Linked DNA regions of Homo sapiens: all the other regions are linked to region 3. Evidence: promoter capture Hi-C in 16 types of primary human blood cells and fetal thymus (Javierre and others, 2016). All regions are on one chromosome and are shown on one strand. The core of a region is centred on a gene start or on the middle of the fragment in contact, and the rest is flanking DNA. Distances in the headings are between cores, read along the strand shown.

The links. Contacts are between HindIII fragments. The CHiCAGO score rates a contact against its expected background, and 5 or more counts as called.
Region 1: a contact is called between the fragment with the promoter of MIDN here and the fragment with the promoter of ARHGAP45 in region 3, in 11 of 17 cell types (monocytes, neutrophils, non-activated CD4 T cells and 8 more). The highest score is 9.6, in monocytes.
Region 2: a contact is called between a fragment that was not itself captured here and the fragment with the promoter of ARHGAP45 in region 3, in 16 of 17 cell types (naive CD4 T cells, non-activated CD4 T cells, total CD8 T cells and 13 more). The highest score is 21.3, in naive CD4 T cells.
Region 4: a fragment that was not itself captured here is called in contact with the fragment with the promoter of ARHGAP45 in region 3 in 7 of 17 cell types (monocytes, neutrophils, endothelial precursors and 4 more); the score reaches 10.2 in monocytes.

The regions. Positions count from the first base shown.
Region 1 is chr19:1,245,802-1,249,898 of GRCh38, reverse strand. It overlaps MIDN (midnolin), which reads right to left and starts at 1,316. Exons shown (of 9, transcript NM_001388306.1): 1 at 1,239-1,316; 2 at 1-9. It overlaps LOC102723811 (a long non-coding RNA gene), which reads left to right and starts at 1,827. Exons shown (of 2, transcript XR_007067082.1): 1 at 1,827-1,886; 2 at 2,038-3,631. RefSeq lists silencers at 93-562, 593-712, 773-1,232, 1,323-1,862 and enhancers at 706-1,239, 3,175-3,920. The HindIII fragment of the contact is 31,339 bases long and covers 1-4,097 here.
Region 2 is chr19:1,262,604-1,266,583 of GRCh38, reverse strand. It overlaps LOC105372236 (a long non-coding RNA gene), which reads left to right and starts at 43. Exons shown (of 3, transcript XR_936233.3): 1 at 43-2,071; 2 at 3,025-3,154. It also overlaps LOC107985303. RefSeq lists a silencer at 1-265 and enhancers at 2,994-3,043, 3,084-3,173. The HindIII fragment of the contact is 2,763 bases long and covers 348-3,110 here.
Region 3 is chr19:1,065,917-1,070,071 of GRCh38, reverse strand. ARHGAP45 (Rho GTPase activating protein 45) reads right to left here and starts at 2,905. Exons shown (of 23, transcript NM_012292.5): 1 at 2,577-2,905; 2 at 1,328-1,658. The coding sequence starts at 2,666. RefSeq lists enhancers at 606-765, 2,956-3,462 and silencers at 1,156-1,255, 1,786-2,025, 2,336-3,095. The HindIII fragment of the contact is 10,211 bases long and covers 1-4,148 here.
Region 4 is chr19:1,229,024-1,233,398 of GRCh38, reverse strand. CBARP (CACN subunit beta associated regulatory protein) reads left to right here. Exons shown (of 10, transcript NM_001393918.1): 9 at 2,124-2,298; 10 at 3,257-4,375. The coding sequence ends at 4,220. Among named protein-coding and RNA genes, the nearest start is that of CBARP-DT, 6.7 kb to the left of the region's middle. The HindIII fragment of the contact is 3,711 bases long and covers 1,265-4,375 here.

The DNA.
Region 1 (4,097 bases), core at 67-2,566, 180 kb before region 3:
TCGGAGGATCTGGGGGTGAAAGTAACAAGAAAAAAAAGTTATAATGTATCAACGTTCCAGGGGGCGGGGCCGCCGCCCCCTCCCATTCACTACTTACTCCGCCGGCCGGGCGCCGGCCAATCGCCGCGCGCCGAGCGCCCAGTCGGCCGCGAGCCCGGGCCTATGAGAGCCGCCGCGGCACCGCCCCACGTGGCAGCCGGGCCCGCCCCCTCGCCCCGCCCCCAGCGCCCAGGCGACCAAGGGGAGCGCAGCGGGGGCGGGGCTGGCGCCTCTCCGCGCCCGCCCCCGCCCCGCCCGCGCCCGCAGCCATTCATAAGCGCCCGGAGCCCGCAACAAAGGGCGGGCGCGCCCCGGGGGGCGCGGGACCCAGGTCTGGAGACGGGTCTGGTACCCCTCGCGATCCCAAGGGAGCGGCCGGGAGCGGGAGGGGGCGCGGGCCATTGTTCCCGGCGCCGGGAGGGGCAGGAAGTCGTGGGGCCACCCCGCCGCCTTCGTCCGGGAAAAGCCGCGAGCGGAAGCGGGAGCGCGAAGTCCGCGCCTCGTGGCCGGGGTCCCGGGGCGGGCGGGCGACGGTGAGGCTAGGGCCGCGGCCCCGGGGAGGGCGTGGTGCGTGGGGGCGGAGTTGTGGCCGGGGCGGGGCGCCCGCACCTCGGTGACGTGGCCGGGTGGCTGCCGCCGGGGGCCCCGCGCGCCCACCCGCCGGCCGCGGGCAGAACCCGTTTCCCCGAGGCGCGCCCGCTCGAGCCGTGACGTGACGCGGCGTCCCCGGCTGCGCCCGCGCGCGCTCGGGGATGCGGTGAGTCAGCAGCTCGGGCGCGCCCTCTGCCGGGCCCGCCTGGGAGCGCCGCCCGGAGTCCCGGGGAGGGGGCGCCGCGCTGCCCCTGGCAGGGGAGGAAGACGACTGGGCTGCGCGCGGGGGAGGAACCCCGATCGGGAACGAAAGACTGTAGTCGGGAGACTGGGACCGTGTGGCTGGGCAACGGAGGGCGGAACGGCAACCAGTTCAAGGTCACCCGCGGTGAAGGGGGAGTGCCCCGGGGGGCGGGGCGGGGGCTGAGGTCCGGCCAGGGCGGCGCTGGCTGCGCGGAGCCCCTCCCACCCCGCACCCCGGGGGGCTTCCCAGGACCGGAGGCTCCCCGATCCCTCCTGTCCCAAGAACAAAGAAAAGTGCGGGCATCCTGAGCCATCTAGAGTGGGCACCCTTCCTCGGCCCGCAGGTCCCCCCCCTCCACACTCACCGGGCGCGGCCGGTTCTGCGCTCCAAGTGCTGCGAGTACCTTCGTCCGGGGCCGAATGCGCGCTGGCCGGGCCGGTCTGGGCCAAGCGCGCGGCCCTCAGCCTTTATCCGCGCCGCCTTCCCTCGGGGTGGAGTTAGGGCGGGCAGGGGGGCGGGGGGCCGGGCGGGCGGTGACGCAGACTGGCCCCCGCCCCTGCCTGCCGGCCCTGGCCCTGGGGCGCCTTGACGGCTGGGCCACCCGGGACCCAGGCTTGGCGCAGTTCATGGGGGGACTCCCCTTGAATGCCCCGAGCCAAGGGTCTCGGCCCGCCTCGCCGCGGGCTGAGATGCACCCCGAATCGTCAGCGGGACAGGGTTTTGGGGTGTACAGCGCGACTCGCTGCCCCGCCCCCTTCCTGTCGCCCCAGGCCCGGTGCTTCCGCCTGGGGGCGCCCGCGTGGGGGGGACGGGAAGAGGGGCCTGAGTCAGCGGCTGTCGTCCAGGAAAACAGGCTGGAGTCACCTGCCGTAGAGTGGGGGTGCCCTGGCCAGCCCTGGCCTCCTGCATCTGTCAATGGTGACCTCAGAGGGCATTTATGGAGCGATTAGCCAGTGCCAGGCCTGCCTTGTGCCCAGCCAGTCACCAGCCGGCTATGCTGTGACCCCGGGAGGTAACTGGCCTCTCCAAGCCTCAGTTTCTCCAGGGTGGGTGGGAGTGTGGTGAGGGGATGCGGCAGGATCACTTTGGGGCCATCACCCCCCATTAATGCAGGACATGCACTGGTTCCCAGCCTTTGGGGTGGGCATTACCCCATTTTACAGATGAAGAAACTGAGGCCACAGCCAATGAGACACGAATGTGGTGTGCATCTCACCCTTCCCCGTCGGCTTTTTGAGGATGGTCCTGGTTGAGGTGGGCCCCGTCCTGCCCCTCTATTTAGAGAAGGGGACCCCATTCCTACGGGAGCACCTCCTGTCCACTCATCTGGCCCCTCCCTTTATCTGGCCTGACCACCTCCACCCCCACCCTGGCCATGGGCGCCCCTCCCAGGGCTGCGCTCCTCCCCAGGTCTCCTTCCGGCTGCCACCCATGCTCCCGGCAGCCGTGGCCCCCACCTTGACAGGCACACCCAGCCCCGAAGGGTCAGGGCTAGGCCAGAGAGGGAGAGGCTGGGATAACCCTTGGAAGGGGGTCACAGGGGCTGCGGTTTGAGGAATGACTAGGAGTTTGTCACATAAAAAAGATGATGCGGTCGGGCGCGGTGGCTCACGCCTGTAATCCCAGCACTTTGGGAGGCCGAGGCGGGCGGATCACAAGGTCAAGAGATTGAGACCAGCCTGGCCAACATGGTGAAACCCTGTCTCTACTAAAAATACAAAAATTAGCTGGGCATGGTGGCATGTGTCTGTAGTCCCAGCTACTCAGGAGGCTGAGGCAGGAGAATCGCTTGAACGCGGGAGGCGGAGGTTACAATAAACCCAGATCGTGCCAGGGCACTCCAGCCTGAGCGACAAAACGAGATTCCGTCTCAAAAAAAAAAAAAAAAAAAAAAAAGGCCGGGCGCGGTGGCTCATGCCTGTAATCCTGGCACTTTGGGAGGCCGAGGCGGGCGGATCACGAGGTCAGGAGTTCGAGACCAGCCTGATCAACATGGTGAAACCCTGTCTGTACTAAAAACACAAAAATTAGCCAGGCGTGGTGATGTGCGCCTGTAATCTCAGCTACTTGGGAGGCTGAGGCGGGAGCATTGCTCGAACCCGGGAGACGGAGATTGTGGTGAGCTGAGATTGTGCCATTGCACTCCAGCCTGGGCAATAAGAGCGAAACTCCTCTCAAAAAAAAAAAAAAAAAAAAAAAAAAAAGACGATGGTCCAGGAAGTGGGAATGGCTTGAGCAGTTCTGGGAGCTTAGTGAACTGGACCCAGTTGGAGGGAGGAGGGGCAGGGTCGATGAATGGGGCTTGGATGAAGGGCTGGGGCCCCAGGTGGGAACTACAGGGCCAGGCTCATTCTGCTTCCAGTGAGAACAAAGGTGGCGGAGGGAGCCGTGGACTGGTGCCAAATGAGCAGCCCAAGCAGGACACTGGGGCCCCCTGTGAGTGGCCAGCAGCCCCCACCTCCCTCCCTGCCTCTTGCCTCTCGTGTGTGGCTCTGCCACCTGCACACCGTCACCTCAGTCTGGTCGGGAGTGGAATGGACACCGTCACCTCAGTCTGGTCGGGAGTGGAATGGACACCGTCACCTCAGTCTGGTCGGGAGTGGAATGGACACCATCACCTCAGTCTGGTCGGGAGTGGAATGGGACACGGGTTGTCGGAACTTGCTGGGCTTCACAGGGGCCACTGTGTGGCCCTTTGGGGACCAGATGCCCAGAGCCAGTCTAAATGAATAAACATGCTAAAACGCTTCCCCACCATTTCCCATACTCGGCGTCCCCATGGTTGAGTGGGTTGTTCCTGGGTGTGATGGGGACAAACCCTGTGCTCTGTTCTGCCTCACTAAGCCAGGGGCTGCCCTCACTGAAGGGCCTTGACCGCCTGGTTCCCGGCCCCACCCTGACTGCCTCCTGCTCCAGGACGCATCCAGCCAGCACGGGCTGTTCCCTCCGAGTGTCAGGTGTCTCGGGTGTCCTGAGGCCTGGCTCCAAGGTTCACACCCTCCCTGGTGGTGGGGGCAGGGGAGGTCCCCGGAGTGAGCAGCTCCTCCCGCTGGGCCCCTGCTAAGTCCCAGCTGTGCCCTTGGTCTTATTTATAGGGTCCTGGTGGCCTGGCAGGAACTTGAAGACCTGGGGCTGGAACTGGGGGCGGGGGGGAGGGGGGGCCTGGGCAGAGGCTGCTCCTGTGGCCTGGTGGCTGACACAACCTTCCCTGGGCTGCGGATTC
Region 2 (3,980 bases), core at 480-2,979, 200 kb before region 3:
CGCCGGACGCCAGGTCCTCCCCCGACCCCGACTAATGACCGGGCGGGAGGCGGTAGAGAGCGTCTAGGCCTGCGACGGGCGTGGCCGAGGATGAAAGGCGCGTGGGGGGGACCCCGGGGCCGCATAATTACCGCCTCCTCCTAGCCAGGCGGGGGCCGGGACCGTGCACCTGGCGGCCGCCCCGCGGGGGCGCAGAAATAGGACCGTCCTGGCAGAGGCTGCAGCCGACCCAGCTGGCCCCACTACGCGGGGCCCAGAGCCAGGGTGGGGGATGCAGAGACCGGGCGTGCGGGTTGCCAGGTGTGGCGCACATGTGTGCCCGTGGGCAGAGTACAGAGACACAAGCTTGTGTGGACACGAATGTGTAGCTATGTGCGAGTGCACACGGCGTGGTGAGTGCAGGGACCCCAGGCCGGCCTGCGTCGGTGCGCAGGGCATATAGGGGCGTGCACGCAGTCTTGGAGGTGTGTGCACAGAGCCCCCGGCACCCGCGTGTGTGCAAAGACACAGGAACCCGTCTGCGTGGCGCTGTGTGTGCAACCCAAGGAGGTGGGCGCTTGGACTCCAAAGTGTGCGCTTATCCGGATGTGGATGTGGGGGCAGCCGGGGACAGGGCTGGGTGTGCGTGACTCGGGTGTGCCGGGACCCACAGAGCATATGTGTCCATGCCTGGTGCTGTGACTCATGTCCCTGGGGTGGGCACGCGTGCTGTGTCAGCGGGAGCCGCGCCTCCCAGGGCAGCCCAGAGTTCCAGAAGCCCAGAAGAGGAAGGGTTAAACCTGCCTCTTCCCCCAGCTCCCAGCTGAGTCCAGGGCTGGGATCTCAGGTCCCCTGGGAGGCCCCGCGCGCCCCCCCCCGCCACCCCGCCCCACCCCCGGGCCTGAGATTCAGGGGCTGCTACACAGGAAAGCCGGACTGAGCTGCTCCCCAGCCTCAGTTTCCCTCCTGTTCCTCGGATGCGTTCGCAGGGTGGGTCGGCTTCCCTTCCCTGTGACTCACCCCCTCCCCACAGGCCTGAGTCACAGCTCAGGAATGTGGAGGCTGGGAGGCCCTGTCTACTCCTGCCCCGGCCAGGCCATCCCAGCAGCCCAAAGGCCAGGCCTGGGCCACAGAGGGACATCCCCGGCACACACACCCCGCCACAGGCCACACACAGGTGCACACCCACACCCCTGCTTCGTACCCACTGGACACAAAGTCATACACCATGCACTCGGCATCCGGAGACCCTGCCTGCCACAGGCACACGCAGTAGACAGGCTGGGGACAGGACGGACCCCGACCTGCCCTGGGGTCACACACCTGTTTGCTCTTTCAGTACACAGGATACTGCAGAGACATAGGTGACCCCTTCTGCTGGGGCGCAGACCAGCCAAGCACATGTGGCGGACGTGTAGTGACGTGCACCCATGCGTGTCTGTGACGTGCAGATCAGGTGTCTGTGAAAGGCCCAAGACCCTGCATGGCCCACGGACACCCTAAAGCTGACCGAGGCTTAGGCTCGCCTGCGTGGACGCTGGGGATGCAGCCACCTAGTTTCTGAAACTGGGAAAAGGTCTGGGGGCTCCGGAGCCCCCACCTCCATGCAGCCTCAGATGTTGCTTAGCAACAGATGCGCGCTCTGGGGTAGGCGGATGGATCTCCACCTGGGCCCAGTTCCCTCTCATGGGACTACACGTCCTGTGCCTAACAGAGAGGTCAAAGAGTGGGGATTTCCTGCAAAGCCAACCAGGCTCAGGGTGGCCCTGCCTAGGGTGGGAGGTATCTCCATGGCAACAGTGGAGTGGGACAAGTGGAGAGTATTTCCCCACTCTCCCAGGCAGCTGCAGGGGCTCAGGACCTACGGAGTGCAAGTGAAGACACCTATGTTGCATCTTGCTGGAGAGGCACCTGGCACCTGCCCGCCCCAGCGTGCCTGGAGGGTTCCCACATCCAGACGGACAGACGGGCCAGGGGACACCCGTCCAGGCAGCCATGGCTGCTCAGCCACAGTCCCTGGAGGGTCAGGGGCCCAGCTGTGAGGCAGGCGGTGCCCAAGACGCTCTCTGGACCGCACTGCTTCATCTGAGAGGTGGGCATGCCAGCAGCACCTCCTGGGGTTAGAGGCGCACAGGGAAGACCTGGTAGGAAGTCGGTCAAGGGCAGTTAGCAGCAAAAGACAGCTCCACGCAGCGCCAGGCTTTCCTTGTTGTTTGCTTCCTTGATGTGGCAGTCCACATGGAATCATCCCGTATGCAGGCCGGGAGCGCTGGCTCATGCCTGGAATCCCAGCACTTTCGTTTGAGTCCAGGAGTTTGATACCAGCCGGGGCAACATAGCTAGACCCTGTCTCTACAAAAAAAAAAAAAAAGCAAAATTAGCTGGGCATGGTGGTGCTCACCTGTAGTCCCAGCTACTCAGGAGGCTGAGGCAGGAGGATCGCTTGAGCCCAGGAGTTCCAGCGAGGCTGCAGTGAGCTGTGATGGAGCCACTGCGTTCCAGCCTGGAAAGAGAGTGAGACCCCGTCTCGAAAATACTAATAACTGGGGCCAGGTGTGGTGGCTCACACCTGTAATCCCAGCAATTTGGGAGGCCAATGCGGGTGGATCATTTGAGGGCAGGAGTTTGAGACCAGCCTGACCAACATGGTGAAATCCCTTCTCTACTAAAAATAAATAAAATTGGGCTGGATGCTGTAGCTCACGCCTGTAATCCCAGCACTTTAGGAGGCCGAGACAGGCAGATCACTTGAGATCAGGAGTTCGAGACCTGCCTGGCCAACATGGGGAAAGCCCGTCTCTACTAAAAAAATACAAAAATTAGCCGGGCGTGGTGGCGGGCGCCTGTAATCCCAGCTACTCCAGAGGCTGAGGCAGGAGAATCACTTGAACCCGGGAGGCAGAGGTTGCGGTGAGCCGAGATCGCGCCAATGCACTCCAGCCAGGGCGACAGAGCGAGACTCCGTCTCAAAACAAAAACAAACAAAAATAATAATTGTCCCGTATGCTAACTCTCCTGTTTCATTTGTATTTCCAACATGCACAGAAAGACTTTTGGAAGGCATAGGTTGGGGCTCGCCTGGGAACCCCTCTCCATCCCCCACCCAGACTCCAGCAGGCTGGAGTCAAGCTTGGCTGGGCAGCGGAGGATCACTGGTGCACAGAGGGGTGAGTGGGTGAGTGTCTGTGGCTGGAGGCCCTGGGGGTGTTCCTGCCCCCGCCCAGGCGTGTGTTGGTTGTGGGGGAAGGCTGCTGCCCTCTCTGTATCTGGTCAGGGCCCTCTTTGTATCTGGTGACAGCTGCGGTGTGTGGTGGGACTCTGCAGGCTGGAGTTTTGTTTGGGGAGGCCTTGGCCCAGGCTGAGCAAGGAGGTTCTGTTTGTTTTAGGGTCACACAGTGGATTGAGGTTGGGGACAGGTATATGGGGTGTGTCTGGGGGGGGGGGTTGTGTATCTGGGAGCCTGGCACACCAGCCGCACCCATAAATGCGTGGCCTGTGGAGGGCTGTCCCGGGCGTGCTGGTCGGGGGTGTGGGATGGCTGTGCAGGCCCCTCGTGGGATGGCACCCATTGGTTTTGCTTGCTCTCCCCCAGGGCTGAGTGTGGGTAGCGTCCTGGGTATGGGGCATGTGCCCTCCGTGGAAACCAGCTGTCTCCCTTGCCCCGCTCCACCCACATTCCAGAGGGGTTGGGGGTGCCCTCCCAGGCTCCCGCCCGCTCCTCGACCTCCGACCTCGGCCCAAGCCCACTCTCTCTGCTCTGGCAACCGAGGAGGCAGCTGGCTCCAGGGAGGGACTGCAAGGCGGGGGAGGAAGCTGGAATGTGCCCCGGGGTGAAGGGGGCCCCCAGAGAGGGGGCGGAAGCAGGGGAGGGACGGAGGGGCGGAGATGGTGGTACTGGGTTGGGGAGAGCGCCAGAGATCGGGACAGAAATAGAGAAAGGCAAAAGAAAGAGAAATGGAGGGAGTGAGAACCAGAAAGAGGGTGGAGGCAGGGCCCAGGTG
Region 3 (4,155 bases), core at 1,656-4,155:
ATGAGCCGAGATCGCGCCACTGCACTCCAGCCTGGGCGACAGAGTGAGACTCCATCTCACCATCTCAAATAAAATAAATAAAATAAAATAAATCAGGTGCAGTGGCTCATGCCTGTAGTCTCAGGTACTCGGGAGGCAGAGGTAGGAGGATGGCTTGAGCCCAGGAGTTCAAGGTAACAGTGAGCCTCAATCACACCACTGGACTCCAGCCTGGGCAACAGAGCAAGACCCTGTATCAAAAAAAAAAAAAAAAAAGTGCCCCACCCTGGCTGGCCCAGTTCAGACCTCCTGCAGGAGCCTGGGAGCTGAGCCCCGCCCAGGCCAGGCCTCCAAGGAAGCGCCAGGATCGGAAAGGAACCGAGATTAGGGTTTCCCCAGGAAAGCAGCCTAGCCCCCGCCCCTGGGACCAGATAACCCGGGGGCTCCCACTCCTCCCAGTGGGGACCGGGCCTTCCCCAACTAGTGCCCTGAAGGTGCAGAGGCCACTCCACCACTTGAGGTCCAGTCCTGGCTCTGCCCTGCCCTGGCTGGGTGAGCCAGGGGTCAGGGCCTCACTAGAGACTTAGTTTCGTCATCTGTAAAATGGGCGGCTGCTGGGAGCAGATCAGAGCGCCTGGCATGACCCTGGCACTGTGGTTTCTGGGAGGAGCCGGGGGCTGAAGGCAGCACATGAGGTGCCCGCCTGGGCTGCCAGGGACAAACAGGAAGCAGATGAAAATAACTCGGCAGGAAGCAGGGCTGTCAGCGGCCGCGTGGAGGAGAAAACGGAACTGCCGGCCTGCAGGCCGCTGGGTCCCAGCACCTCCGCCGCCTGATGACCCCATCCTGCCCCTCGCCATGCCTCCTGAATCTCTCTCCACCCAGACCTCAGCCAACCCCCAGTTTGCTTCATTCCAAGACACAGATCTGCCCCCATCTGTCCTGTGCTCTAACACCTTCTATGGCTCCCCATTGCCCTTCTGCCTGGCGTTGTCATGCCTTCATCCTACACCAGCGGCACCCCACACCTTGGCCCCCAAATGCATTCTCTGTTTCCGTGTTTCTGAGCCTGTGCATGGGACATTTCCTCTGCCTTTCCCTCCTAATTGCCATCAGATCCTTTAAAAAAAATAAAGTGGGCACCCTCTTGAGCCAGTGTACGCTCAGGGACTCCCCCACCAAACTCCTACACATCCCTCAGAGCCTTAGCTGTCATGGCCTCTTCCACACAGCCCTCCCTGCCATCTGAGCCTCCCTCCCTTCTGAGCCTCCCCAAGTCCCTCCCTCCATCCTCCCTTGGGTCTGGCTCTGTCTTCCACCCAGGCCTCGGTGTCCCCGTGGCTCTCACCGTCACGCAACACACACTCCTTAAGTTTCTCAAGGCCCTCAGCGAAGCGGGCCACGTCCGCCAGCAGATGGGAGATGTCCTCGACGACGTCCGGGCCGGCACCCTCGGTGGGCAGCTCGCCCGGGCTGGCGGCTGTCAGTGGGCTCCGGTGGCTCCGGCCCAGTGTCCAGGAGGCAGCACCCGACAGGGGGAAGCCAGCCGCGCTGGCGTGGCGGCTCAGGCTGGTGGGCCGCTTGAGGGTCCCTGTGGCCTTGACGCCGGAGGACCCAGCGGGCGGCTCCAGGCTTGGTCCGGGGAACACCGCGTCAGCCCCATCCTTCCTGGGCAGCTCCTTGGGCAGGTCCGAGGGGAGCTCGTTAAAGGGATTTTCCGGCCTGGACACGGCCTCAGTTTCCCCAGAAATGAAGTGGGGCTGTGGAGGGCCACCATCACCCTGACCCCACAGGGGTCAAAGGCCAGAGGTCACAGGGCCGAGATTTGGTAGTGTACCCCCCCACCTGTTACCCAACATCCTCTTCCCTAGAGCTTTCACAAACAACGGTCCTTGCCCAAACCACAGCCGGGGCGGGGCCTGCGGGGAGGCGCGGGAGGGGGGTCCCCACTTCCTGGTGGGGGTGGGGAGGGTCCTCAGCCCTTCAAGCCCCCCTCAGGCTCCTACAACGCAGGTGCTTTAAGTGAACACACTTCTGACTCTGTCTGTCCCCTAAAGGTCCATGGAACCCCAGAGCCTATGGGCAGCCCCAGGCCTTGTAGACATCCCGGACCCCCAAGCTCTGTAGACCCCCCCCCCAGCTTTGTAGACACCCCAGGCCTGGGGACACTCCCCAACCTCTGAACCTGGTGGATCCCATTAGAGGATCTGCTGCCCGGTCAACCTTCAGCCCAATGGCCAGGCCACAGCCCTCCCATCTCAACGGCCCCTAGAGCCCCCAGATTGCCTAAGCCCCCAACCTGCAGCGGCCCAAACACAACATCGTCCCAACCCGGCACCCTCCCTTCCTGCTCCCTGGGCCCCGCGGCCAGCCCTGGATGGAGTGGAGGGAGGCGGCCACCACTCCCAGGGTCCCTACCGTGAGCTGAATGCCGGGGTCCCGGCCTCTCTGCTGTGGCCCCTGCCGTCCCGCCCGGTAGGGGCTGTAGCTGGCACGAGCCCCCAGCCGCCGCCCCAGCATGAGCCCCGAGCACAGGGCGGGTCCCTGTCCCCCTGCGGCCCGGCGTCAGCTCCGGGTCTCACCCGGGCTCCACTCACCCCCGAGGGCTGCGGGCTGGGGCTTCCCGCGCGGTTCTTTTTCGAGATGGAAGGGGTTTTCATGAGCTCTCGTTTCTTCCTGGAGAACATGATGGGGCCCCGGCCGGGAGCCCGAGGGGGCGGGCTGGGGGTCTCAGCGCTGCAGCTCCCGGCGCTGGCCGCTTCGGGACCACATTGTCGCCGGCCACCCCCTCCCCAGCTGTCAGGCCCACGTGACAGGCCCGGCCGTCACTGGCGGGCCCTCCCCCCAACAGGAAAAGGCTTCGGGGAGGCGGCGACGCGGCCTCGCCCCCGACCCTTCCCGGCCTCAGCCTGCGGCTCTGCGGAGTGGGCGCGAAGGTGAGGTCGCAGGCCCCGCCCCCAGCCCCGGGCCGCGCCCCCCGCTTCCGCCTTCGGGAGCTCGGAGCCGCGCCGCTCGCGGGGTGGGACCGGGAGCCCCTGCCTGACGCTGGCGGGCACGGGGCGGCCGACTGCAGGGCGCTGACTCTCACTCCCGGACGCGAGTGGGCGTGCACAGACACGTGCACGATGACACGCAGAGACCCGGACCTCCACACGCGCTCAGACGCCACCAAGCCCCTGGAGCCTCGCCCTCAGACCCCAGACACACGCACAGGCCGAAGCTGCGCCCCTGCAGCCCCCTTTTCCCTGAAGGCAAGCCCGCTCCACCGCCTCTCCTGCAGACCCTAGGGTGTGGCCGGGCCCCAGCAGGGCCGGGCAGAGTAGGGTCCCCCCCATCACCCGCCCTGCAGCCCCGTGAAGTGGGTCAGGTCGAGGACAGGTGGGGAAACTGAGGCCCAGAACCGAAACCCTGGGGGCAAAGACGTCCAGGAAGTCAGAACAATCCAGGTTACCGGGCCCTGTCCGTCTGGGTCCCCACGTCCGTCTGGGTCCCCACGTCCACCTGGTCCTGGGCTGCCTGCACAGGGGTCCCCAAAGTGTGGTGTGGACCCCACCATCGGCAGAATATGCTGAGGACACCTGGTTACCTCTCAGCAGCCCTGTGGGCCATATCATGTTGCCCCAGACCTGCCCTTAGCTAAGGTCCCCAGCCCCGCCTCCCAAGCTGCATTCCAGTGACTCTGGACCACCGGACGTGCTGGGCAGCAGGACGCAGGCACCCGTTGCTGATAACAGCCTGAGGCGGCATTGGCCAAGAGCTGGGGCATCTGCAGGCATACAGATCCCAGCCTCCTACCTTCCCCCAACCCCCACCCCGCAGTGTGAACTCTCTCCCCCCTCCCCAAGTCTCCCTGCTGTCCCCTTCCAGAACCCCACCCCCAATCCCAAAACCCCAACCTCTTTCCTTTCCCAAACCCCATTCCCACCTACCTCGGGTGGGAGGGGCAGATCTCTGGGGCACAGGACATGAAGGCCACAGCCCCTTGCTCCAAGTCTGGCTCTCCAGGCCCAGGTCCAAGTGCAAACCCAGCCCAGCAGACCCTTGAGAACTCTTTGCCCCCGACTCATGGCGCTGAGGGCTGGGGTCAGAGGGTGAGGGTCAGCTGGATGTCGGATGGGCTTCTGGCCCGGCCCTGGCCTGTGCTCCGGGACACCGGGCTCCTGTAAGCTTCCCAGG
Region 4 (4,375 bases), core at 1,871-4,370, 160 kb before region 3:
GGCCCCTGTGGGCTGGGTGCTGGCTGCCAGGGGCTGCCCTGGACATCCAGGAGCAGGAGGTTGTGGGCTGGGTGGGGAGCCGGTGCTCTGGGGCTGAGTCCTGCCCAGTCTGCCAGCGGGCGTGCTGCCTGAGGTTCTGCAGGTGGCTGGGAGGGCTGAGTGTGCGGGCGGCCTGAGCCAGACCCACCCAGCTCCGGGAACCTGTGCGGGAAGGCTTTGCGCGCCCCGACTGCTCTCGGGCCATTGGGGCATCCAGGATGAGGTGGTAAAGGAGGGTGTCGGGGGCCACCTGGTCACTGTGGAGCGCAGAGGGTGGGGCCTGTGGCCTGCATCCCCTCCCAGCCATGCTCGGCTCTCATCCCTGGGAATGTGAGTGGAAGGCGGGTTCCCCCGGGGCCCCTCCCTCGCCCGCTGGCAGACCATCAGCTGCTGTGTGACCTTGGCCGAGGCCCTCTGCCTGTCTGGGCTCTGACTTCCTCTAACACGAAGTAAGTGTTGGACTGGGCCAGGGGTCAGCAGACTTTTCCCATCAGGCCCCGGATGGTGGTGTTCGTGGGGTTATGGTCAGAGAGGCTGTGTCTCCACAACTCTGCTGCTGTTGAGGCGAGGAAGCAGTCAGAGGCGCTGCATGACGAATGCACGTGGCTGTGTGCCAGTAAAACTTACCGAAGCTCCGGGGCAGGGGGTGCTTTTGCCCTCTGGGCTGTAGCACATAGATCCCTGGACTGTTTGACAGTAGCCCTTCAATTCTGCAGGCCTTGGGTCAGGCAGGATCCTGGAGACAGGGCTGCCTTATCTGGGCTCGAGGCAGGAGTTTGTGTGGGGAGCAGAGGTGTCCCATCTGTAGCACTGGCAGCAGGCACCAGCCCTGCTCAGCCAGCTCAGCAGGGCCAGGGCAGCCCAGAGGGGCTGGGGCCCGCTCTGCCTTGTGGACAGGGTGGCAGGTCCTGTCGTCAGGTGAGGCCAGGATAGGGGACAAGTGCAGAGAGAAGGTGCTGTCAGCATGACAGAGGACACATCATCAGACAGTGGGAGACCCTGTGTTGTGGCTCCAGCCAGCGGGGGTGGGGTGAGTTCTCCCAGCCCCCACCCCCAAGGTAGCTAGGGGCCAGGGAGGGGAAGGCCTCCTCTGGCTGCCCCGCTCCAGCTGAGAGAATCCAGATCTTGAAATGAATGGGGCCCAGGGGTGACTAGAGACATTTAGAGTCCAATGTGGTTGCAGCACATCCCAGAACCTGTTTGCTGGGGCCTGCCCACTCAAGCTTTGCTGGGGAGGCTGTTGGGAGAAGGGGGCCGAGGCAGGGGTGGGGCAGTCCCCCAGCGCTCTCCAGACCAGGGTGGAGCTGGCAGGAGAGGGCACCTCTCTCCCTCTCCTCGTTGGCCCCCACCAGCCTGTATGTGACTCTCTCATGCCTTCCGTAGTTTCAGCCAGGCTGTGCAGGCCACCAGGTGTCCAGGACACGCCCTTATGAGTGGCCACATGTTGACCAGGGCTGCCACAAGGCACTATCGGTGCCAGAGGCCCTTCCACTCACTCGCTTCCTGGCCCTGCCCTGCTCAGGCTCTCTGGTCCCAGCACCTCTTCCCTCCGTGCCTCAGTTTTCTCACCTGTACTCCAGGGTGTACACACAGCCACTGTCCGCACCCACCTGACCCGGGGAGATGCCAGCCAGGGTCTGGCCCAAGCCAGGGCCCACTCCTGTGTGTGTGAGACAGAGACAGGGCACACGCGTTGTGTGTGTGTGGGGGCCACAGGTGTTCTGTGTGTAGGAGGGTACAGGCATTCTGTGGGGGGGGCACAGGCATGGGGGGTGCACAGGCGTTCTGTGGGGGGGGCACAGGCGTGTGTGTGTGAGGGGGCCACAGGCGTTCTGTGGTGGGGGGCACAGGCGTTCTATGTGTGTGTATGGGGGCCACAGGCGTTCTGTGTGTGGGGGGGGCCCAGGCGTTGTATGTGTGGGGGGCACACGTTGTGTGTGTGTGGTGGGGGTCCACAGGCGTTGTGTGTGGCGGGGGGGCACAGGCATTGTGTGTGTGTGGCGGGGGGGCATAGGCATTCTGTGTGTGTGTGGAGCGGGTGGAGGCACATGCCGGCTGACGCTTACGGCACATCCCGTGCGCAGGTTCCCCCAAGCGGCACCACTTCCAGCGGCAGCGGGCAGCCAGTGAGAGCACGGAGCAGGAGGAGGGGGATGCCCCCCAGGAGGACTTCATCCAGTACATTGCCCGGGCGGGCGACGCCGTGGCCTTCCCGCACCCCCGCCCCTTTCTGGCCAGCCCGCCCCCTGCTCTCGGCAGGTATTTTTCAGTAGATGGAGGTGCTAGGGGTGGACCTGTGGGCCCTTGCCCCCCTTCGCCCCCCCCTAGGCGGCCCAGGGAGCGCTCTCCAGGCCCCGTGGACACGCGCTCGCCTGCCTCCAGCGGCAAGGCCCCTCCCAGAGGCGGACTCACTGGGGCCACCTCTCCAGCATGGACCAGAGGAGGGAAGCAGGGAGAGACTGGGTAAGGGTAGGGCGGTGGGTGGGGAGGAGGGGCCCCCCGAGGATGGCGCTGGTACTGCTGCTTGCTGGTGGAGTCCGAGGCCTGAAGGGTTCTGCTGTGGTCCCAGGCCCTCTCCCACCCCCGCCCCGCCCATGCTCCCAAGGCTGGGCAGACTCCTCTCAGAAGCTGCTGTGACCACTCCGGCCAGCAGCACCCCTCCCCCAACCCAAGGGCAACTTCCCTGAAGCCCAGGGCCCACGTCGGTGGGATGGGAATGGGGCGTGGGGCTGGGGCAGAGCAGGGTTCCTGGGGCAGCCCTGGTATGGCGGGTGACCCTCACGTCTGTGCACTGTCCTCCTGCTGGTTATCCAGCATGGGTGGGCAGAGAGCCCTAGCCTGGAGCAGGGGCTGAGCTGGACTCAACCGCGTCCAGTCCATCCCCTGCGGCTCCCACGTCCACTGGGAGGCTGGGAAAACGTGACTCCCGGAGAGAAGCATGTTGACTTTTCCTGGGGGCTTCCAAGGGAGGGGGCCCCGCCGTCTGCAGTCCAGCATGGAGGCACCCTGCTTAATAAGCAGGCGCCACAGCTCAGGGTCAATGCAAGACGCATCCCCTGCAAAACACACTGGCTCATTTTAAAGCTCTCACCTTCCAAGGCCCGCCCGAGTCCCAAGTCCCACCCGCGTCCACCCTCCCTGATCCAGAGGCGGGATGGCCGGCCGGGTAGGGGGCGCGGGGCTCGGCGGGGCTCTGACGGCGCGGCCTGGCTTGCAGGCTAGAGGCGGCCGAGGCAGCGGGAGGAGCGAGCCCCGATTCCCCCCCGGAGCGCGGCGCGGGCAGCGCGGGGCCTGAGCAGCAGCAGCCGCCACTGGAGCCGGACGCCGAGCGGGACGCGGGCCCCGAGCAGGCCCAGACCAGCTACCGCGACCTGTGGAGCCTGCGCGCCTCGCTTGAGCTGCATGCGGCCGCCTCGGACCACAGCAGCAGCGGCAACGACCGCGACTCGGTGCGCAGCGGCGACAGCTCGGGCTCAGGCTCCGGGGGCGCGGCGCCCGCCTTCCCGCCGCCCTCCCCGCCCGCGCCGCGGCCCAAGGACGGCGAGGCGCGCCGGCTGCTGCAGATGGACAGTGGCTACGCCAGCATCGAGGGCCGCGGCGCAGGCGACGACACCGAGCCACCTGCCGCGCCCGCCCGGCCCCGCAGCCCGCGCGCCTGGCCCCGCCGCCCGCGCCGCGACTACAGCATCGACGAGAAGACGGACGCGCTGTTCCACGAGTTCCTGCGCCACGACCCGCACTTCGACGACACGCCGGCTGCCGCGCGACACCGCGCCCGCGCGCACCCGCACGCCCGCAAACAGTGGCAGCGTGGCCGGCAGCACAGCGACCCCGGCGCCCGCGCGGCCCCGGCCCTGGCCGGAACCCCGGCACCGCCTGCCGGCGCGGCCCGACCCGCGCGTGCGCCCTTGCGGCGCGGCGACAGCGTGGACGGCCCGCCCGACGGTCGCACCCTGGGCGGCGCCGGCGACGACCCCGCCATCCCCGTCATCGAGGAGGAGCCGGGCGGCGGGGGGTGCCCCGGCTCGGGCCTGTGCGTCCTACCATCCGGGTCGGTGCTGGACAAGCTGGCGGCTGGCCTCGACGAGAGACTCTTTCCGCCGCGCCTCGCCGAGCCCGTCGTGGCGACTCCCGCGTTGGTCGCCGCCGCCCCCACGTCCCCCGACCACAGCCCGGCCTAAGTCCCGCGTCCTGGGCCCATCTCTCTGGCAGCTTCTCCGGCGCCGCACGGGGCCTCGGCGGCGGGAGAGACGTGGGGGCGCGACGCCCCGACGCGAATGCGCGGGGACCGCGGGCCCTTCGCGCACGCGCCGGGCGACGGAGGCGCGCTCGCCGC